Linked DNA regions of Homo sapiens: region 1 is linked to region 2. Evidence: promoter capture Hi-C in 16 types of primary human blood cells and fetal thymus (Javierre and others, 2016). All regions are on one chromosome and are shown on one strand. Each heading gives the region's core, a stretch centred on a gene start or on the middle of the fragment in contact. The rest is flanking DNA. Distances are from core to core; before and after follow the strand shown. Region 1 holds the start of OR7A10 (olfactory receptor family 7 subfamily A member 10). Region 2 holds the start of CYP4F2 (cytochrome P450 family 4 subfamily F member 2).

Region 1 (3,426 bases), core at 525-3,024, 1.0 Mb before region 2:
CCGGGAGGCAGAGGTTGCAGTGAGCCAAGATTGTGCCACTGCACTCCAGCCTGGGCGACAGAGTAAGACTCTGTCTAAAAAAAAAAAAATGCCCTCACTTCCTTTCGTATCCCCCATAGCTAATACCCTACTTCTCTTTCCCACTTAATTGCAGTGATGCTTGGGCAGATGTTCTGCTTTCACTGGAACTACTTTAGACCCCACATTTTCTCTTCTAATTGGGCTTTTATTACCCTTACTTGATTGTCGGCTATCATTCTCCATTGCTGAGTTCAAGATGCACTTCTCTTCTTAGCTTCATAAATGAAGATATGAATCAATTCATTCACCAAGCAAATACCCACAGCAGCGTCTCCACTCTGTTGCAGCTAGGATTGGCTCTTTCGAGATCTCGGGTCTATGTTCACAACTTGCAATCTCCCTGATCCTTTCCTACGGTACCTATTGGACTCACCCTGTTGGGTTTTCTGAAATGAAGGTCTCAATCTAGAAGTGCAAATTCCTCCCTGGATGGTTGATGGTGGAGACTGAGGCTGTGTCCCAAGACAAGACAGTAGGAGAAAGGAAAGAATCAGTACCCCTGAGCCAGCAGATATAGACTCCGAAAGAAACAAGGATGTCCCATCCAGCCCAAGGTTGCATATGCTGAGGGACACCTGCAGCGGAGAAATTTACAGCTTCATATGCCTGCTCATTGGAGACATTTCCTCCTGTTATTCAACCCCTGATCACATTCAGTCCCTGTGGGACATTGCTCTTCATGGAAAGAAATTTTTTTCTTGCATACTCAGTTCCCAAGACATCAGATTAAACATCAGGCGAATCGAGTCGTTATTATTCCTTCTCCATGGATTTGTCTGCCTTCCAAAGGTCTAACCTCCCATCACTTCCCTCCAACCCTGAGGGAAAGTTTCCTCCGAAGTTTAAACTGAGGAATCTTTCTTGACTAAGCCCCTTGAGTCTCCAAAGCATTGACTTGTGGTAAGAACACAGGTTAAGAGCCGTCATTTAATCCTTCATTTATAAAACATTTGATAATTGTAAGAGATACATTTACATCTTTTCATGCAAGTTACCCTTAGATTAGCACCTTATAAGAGTGATCTCATTAATTTTTTAAAAAAAGTATTTATTTATTTAAATGGACAGATATAATTGTATATATTTATGGTGTCCAACATGATGCTTTGAAGTATATATACATTGTGGAATGGTTAAATCTAGCTAATTAATATATGCATTATCTCATGTAGCTATCATATTCGTAGTGAGATTCCTTTAAATCCACCTTTGGCATTTTTCTTTTCTTCCTCTTCTTTTCTTCTTCTTCTTCTTCTTCTTCTTCTTCTTCTTCTTCTTCTTCTTCTTCTTCTTCTTCTTCTTCTTCTTCTTCTTCTTCTTCTTCTTTCTTCTTCTCTTTTTTTTTTTTTGAGACAGAGTCTTGCTCTGTTGCCAGGCTGGGGTACAGTGGCACGATCTTGGCTCACTGCAACCTCCACCTCCAGGGTTCAAGCGATTCTCCTTGCTTCAGTCTCCCGAGTAGCTGGGATTACAGGCACCCACCACCACACCCGGCTAATTTTTGTATTTTTAGTGAAGATGGGGTTTCACCATGTTGGCCAGGATGGTCTCGATCTCTTGACCTCGTGATCCGGCTGGCATTTTTCAAGAATACAATATGTCATCATTAAATATAGTCACCTTGCTGTACAATAGATCTCTTGAATGTATTCCTCCTAACTACAATTGTGTATCCTTGGACAAACATCTCCCCACTCCTCACGCTGCAACTGCCCCAGCCTCTGGTAACCACCATTCTACTCAATAATTCTGTGAGATCGACTTGTTTCAATTTCATATGAGTGAGATCAGATGGTATTTGTCTTTCTGTGACTGTCTTATTTCACTTAACATAATGTTCTCCAGACTCAACCATGTTGTCTCAAATGACAGAATTTCCTTCTTGTTTATGGCTGAATAGTATTCTATTGTGTGTGTGTGTATAATACATAACGAAATTATATAATATTTTAAAATCCATTCATTCATTGATGGACACGTTGATTGATTTCACATCTTGGATTCAGGATATTCTGGACATAATTCTGCATATGAACACTTTGTTGGATCTGTAGTTTGCTGATAACATTGACCACATATCTAAACTCAACATTTTTATTCCACCCCTCACTCCTGACCCATTTTATGGTTTGGAGGTCACAATTTACAGCTTTTTATATTGTGTATCACTTAGCAAATTAAGAGTTACAATTTTCATTTGATGTTCTGTTAATTGCAATTGATTGCAATCCATAACTTGCTATACTATTCCGATAAATTTTATAATATTAGTAACCTGTCATATGTATACAAGATCTACATGGGGATCAAAATCAGTTATATTACATGTGTACTTTCTAATAAGCAGTTATTGTACATTCTTACTTTTTTGATGGGGCTACACACACACAGACACAGAAACATACAAACATACACAGACACACACACACACACAGACACATAAAGTCTTGACAAATTGGAAGACCTCCATAGGAGAATGGCTCACATACAGAAAAATCTAAAAAGTATCATAGGGTGACTGGAAGAAGAAAAGTTGGTTGTTTTTTCTGTACATATGAAGAAGTTGGTTGTTTTTCCTGCACATGTGGAGACAGTCCTGTCTGCCACTGAAAAGAATGCTGGCGTTTCTTCTTGTACATCATTTCATGCGGCCCCTACTGGGTACCCTGGATTCTCTCCTGACTCCAATCTCTTCTCAATCATACACTCAGGGTATCTGCAACAAAACTTCCACCTCAATTTCCCCCTCTTTTTTCAAATTTCTATATCTCTTGTATCTACAATTCTATTCTCTGTCTCCATGAGGTCAACTTCTTTAGCTCCTTCATATGAATAAGAACAAGCATTATTTTCTTTCTGTGCCTGGCTTATTTCACTTAACATAGCAGCTTCCAGTCCCATCCATGTTGCTGCAAATGTCATAATTTTATTCTTTTTTATGGCTGAATAGTATTCAATTGTGTATATGTACTGCATTTTCTTTATCTATTTGTGCACTGATGGACACTTTGGTTGATTCCATATCTGAACTATTGTGAATAGTGTTGCAATAAACATGCAAATGCACGTATCTTTTTGATACACTGATTTCTTTTCCTATGGTTATAGATCCAGTAGTGGGATTGCTGCATCAGATGGTAGTTCTATTTTAGTTTTTTGAGAAATCTCCATATTATTTTCCATAAAGGATCTACTAATTTACATTCTAACCAACTGTGTATAAGAGTTCCCTTTTCTCCTTATCCTTCCCAGCAACTGTTTTTTTTTCTTTTTAATAATATCCATTCTAATTTGGGTAAGACGAAATCTCACTGTACTTTTTTTTTTTTATCGTTGTTGTTGTTG
Region 2 (3,986 bases), core at 458-2,957:
GGCAGAGGGAGAAGACGCACTGTCCACTCACAGAGGCCCAGTTATCTTGAGAGGAAGGATTTTCTTTTTCTGGGAGTCATTTCAGCCCAGAGGCAGCTATATGGGGAGGTCCTCACAGGGGAGATTTGTGGGGAGCAGTATCGCCTCAGGACATGTCCCTAAGGCTGGTCCCCACATGCCTTCATGTCCTGGCTGATCCACAGAGGCTCCAGTTCCTCCCATGGAGAAGGTTCTGCACATGGGAGACCTTCCCTTTTCAGCAGCCACTAGTGGAGCAGAGGTGACTCTAACTGTCCATCAGGACAATGGCTCCCACCTGGGAGCAGCTTCTGCAGCAGGCTCTGTGCTAGTGTGTCCTGTGCACCCTTCCACTTTATCTGTGGACACATCCATCAATCCTGCCATTTGCAAATGAGCAGACTAAGACCACATTCCCCAAAGAGGAGAGCGGTCTAAGTCAGAGGGCAAGGTCACGGGGAGGAGAAAGGCCAAGGAAAGCTTCTGAAAGGTGAAGTGAGTGGCCAACTTTTATCTGGGTTTGGCAACAGGTCTCATTGATAAGAGGGAGATAAGAAGAAGAATATAAGAGAAAGGTGCCTTCGGGTGTAGTGGAAGTGGGAGACGGCCCATGCCTCTCCTCTGGCCCAGCTGTACCCTCATAACAGGAAATAGTCCAGGCAAGGAGAGGACCCTGGACAGTGGGCATAAGAAGCCTCGAGTCCAGCAATGGAGAATGTGGGAATGCCAGGGACTCGCCTCTCTGTGCAGCCAACCCTCTGCCCAGGAGCCCCGCAGAGGTGCATTAATGTGGGAAGACAGGCAGGAAAAGGATTCAATGCAGGCCTGGAGTGGGAGGACAAGGAAGTGAGAAGGGCTTGCGTAGGCACCTCACAGAAATGAATAAGCAGAGGAATGAGTAAGATGCCTCCTCTGCTTCTCTGCCACCCCAGATCCCAGCCCACCCCTTCACCCCCACTCCCTAAGCCTCGTACCCCTCAGGAAGTCCATCCATCCTGAGACCTAGACCCATCCTGCTGCCACACTCACCATGCCCTGGTGTCCCCAAAACCAGTTCCGTCTTGGGGGTTGTGGGAAACACCGAAGGCGGCGGCAGTTGTCATAGAAGGCGTAGGTCCAGGCCAGGACATGGGCCAGGAGCCAGGAGGCCCCGACCAGCAGGAGGAGCAGCCAAGGGGATGCTGCCACTGGCCAGAGGCCCAGCCAGGACAGGCTCAGCTGGGACATCCTGCAGGGCAGACGGGATGGACGGTGAGATCCTGAGGCCCAGAGAACGGCCCAGGGACCTCCAGGGACAGTGGAGAGGCAGGGACGGGCAGTGCCGGAGGTAGAGCAGGGAGGGCTCAGGGATGGGTAAAAAGGGGCTGAGAGGTAAAGTCCAGAAAGGCCCAACCAAAACCAGCAGCCAAGTGGCCTCCAGTTCCCTAGTAAGCACTTAGAATGGGAAAGAGAGAGAGAGACTGATTAAAGTCCAGAAAGGCCCAGCCTGAATCACTGTGAGGTTGCCAGGGGCTTGGTTTCAGTTACTCGGAAACCACCCATCCTCCAGGCCAGCACCCAGGAGCTGCGTGGGCCTTGGGCAGTGCCCCTCTCCATCCCAGGCCAGGACCCCCCCCAGGCCTGCCACCCCCAGCCTGGCACCTTCTGTCAGGAGCAGTCTGTCCCAGACAACCTCCTCTCTCTGTCTGCTGGGAGGCCTTTGACCCTGGCCCTTGATATAGCAAAGGCTGTGGGAGGGCTGGCTGGGTTGGGCTGGGCCAACCAATCCCTGCAGCCTGGATGTGTCTCCTGAGCCTGGGCAGCCAATCAACACCTGGCGTCAGGCCAGCTGGGTGCAGAGGAATCAGCTCAGGGTCCAGATGGATGGGTAGATGCACAGATAGATAGAGTAGATAGGATGGATACATTAGGTAGATAGATAAAGTAGATATAGATAATGGATATATTAGACAGATGGATAGATAGCTATTAATAGATGATAGATAGATACATAGATAATAGGATAAATAGATGGAATGGATAAACGTACAGCTAAGATGGATTGATGGATGGATGGGTAGGCAAATATATATATAGATGAGAAATTAGATAGATAGGATGAATAGATTAGATAGACACACCCAGAAATAATGTTCCATCTCTGTCCCAGATATGTGGGATCCTCATTTGTGACATGGGAACTAGGGATCTTGGATCACTCCAATCACTCCAGATGCTACAAGGCCAGTGACTTACTCAGTATGATGCTGAGGAACATGACCATCAGAAACAGGATCAGAGTCACTCTCAAGCAAAAAAAAAAAAAAAAAAAAAAAAAAAAAAAAAAAAAACTCCAAGGATTAAATGATTTTTCCCATTGTCCTGGGGAGAAATTAATCCAAGGGAGGTCACAGGAGGGCAAATAATTCCCCATCACCACCACCACCACCATGAGCATACCATCACCCATGGAGTTTTCTGATTTACTCTTTGGCCCATTAAGCGTGAAATTTCTTATGCTAGGTTTCTTTCTGATAAGGGAGAAGAGATTAGTATCTCTACATTTCCTCTCCTCCTGCTACCTAGTCTCTGTATTCTAGGTTAAATTATAATTTATGTTGAGGATTTACAATGGCTGATACACCTAGCTGAGCCTTCTGCACAGAGATACATTGGGAGTGGAGGTTAATTGGGTCAAAGGAGAAATGCCATAAGCCCACACTCCAGCCTATCAGGGTGGATTAAAGGTCTGATTTGCCCAACTCTTGTCACACCTGCTCCCACTGAGAGGTGACAGCATGCTGGCAGTCCTCACAGCCCTCACTCGCTCTCGGCGCCTCCTCTGCCTGGGCTCCCACTTTGGCGGCACTTGAGGAGCCCTTCAGCCCACCGCTGCACTGTGGGAGCCCCTTTCTTTTCTCTTCTTTTCTTTTTTTTTGGATTTTTTTATTATTATTATTATACTTTAAGTTTTAGGGTACATGCGCACAATGTGCAGGTTAGTTACATATGTATACATGTGCCATGCTGGTGCGCTGCACCCACTAACTCGTCATCTAGCATTAGGTATATCTCCCAATGCTATCCCTCCCCCCTCCCCCCACCCCACAACAGTCCCCAGAGTGTGATGTTCCCCTTCCTGTGTCCATATGTTCTCATTGTGTAGGGACATGGATGAAATTGGAAATCATCATTCTCAGTAAACTATCGCAAGAACAAAAAACCAAACACCGCATATTCTCACTTATAGGTGTAGGAGCCCCTTTCTAGGCTGGCCAAGGCCAGAGCCGGCTCCCTCAGCTTGCAGGGAGGTATGGAGGGAGAGGCGCGAGTACGAACCGGGGCTGCGCGCGGCACTTGCGGGCCAGCTAGAGTTCCAGGTGGGCGTAGGCTTGGCAGGCCCCGCACTCGGAGCAGCCGGCCGGCCCTGCCAGCCCCGGGCAATGAGGGGCTTAGCACCCGGGCCAGCGGCTGCTCGGGAAGGTGTACTCGGTCCCCCAGCAGTGCCAGCCCACCGGCGCTGCGCTCGATTTCTCGCCGGGCCTTAGCTGCCTTCCCGCGGGGCAGGGCCCAGGACCTGCAGCCCGCCATGCCTGAGCCCCCGGCCTCCGTAGGTTCCTGTGCAGCCCGAGCCTCCCCGATGAGCGCCGCCCCCTGCTCCAGGGCGCCCAGTCCCATCGACCACCCAAGGGCTGAGGAGTGCGAGCGCACGGCGCGGGACTGGCAGGCAGCTCCACCTGCAGCCCCGGTGCGGGATCCACTGGGTGAAGCCAGCTGGGCTTCTGAGTCTGGTGGGGACGTGGAGAACCTTTGTGTCTAGCTCAAGGATTGTGAACGCACCAATCAGCGCCCTGTCAAAACAGACCACTTGGCTCTACCAATCAGCAGGACATAGGTAGGGCCAGATAAGAGAATAAAAGCAGGCTGCCCGAGCCAGCAGTGGCAACCCGCTCAGGCCCCCTTCCACATTGTGGAAGCTTTGTTCTTTC

What was found. The method cuts DNA at HindIII sites, captures the fragments that hold promoters and counts their contacts. A CHiCAGO score of 5 or more calls a contact.
Region 1: a fragment that was not itself captured here is called in contact with the fragment with the promoter of CYP4F2 in region 2 in 1 of 17 cell types (M2 macrophages); the score reaches 5.2 in M2 macrophages.

What each region holds. Positions count from the first base shown.
Region 1 is chr19:14,848,046-14,851,471 of GRCh38, forward strand. It overlaps OR7A10 (olfactory receptor family 7 subfamily A member 10), which reads right to left and starts at 877. Exons shown (of 2, transcript NM_001005190.2): 1 at 455-877. The HindIII fragment of the contact is 5,321 bases long and covers 1-3,426 here.
Region 2 is chr19:15,896,367-15,900,352 of GRCh38, forward strand. CYP4F2 (cytochrome P450 family 4 subfamily F member 2) reads right to left here and starts at 1,708. Exons shown (of 13, transcript NM_001082.5): 1 at 1,660-1,708; 2 at 1,048-1,246. The coding sequence starts at 1,245. The HindIII fragment of the contact is 3,476 bases long and covers 497-3,972 here.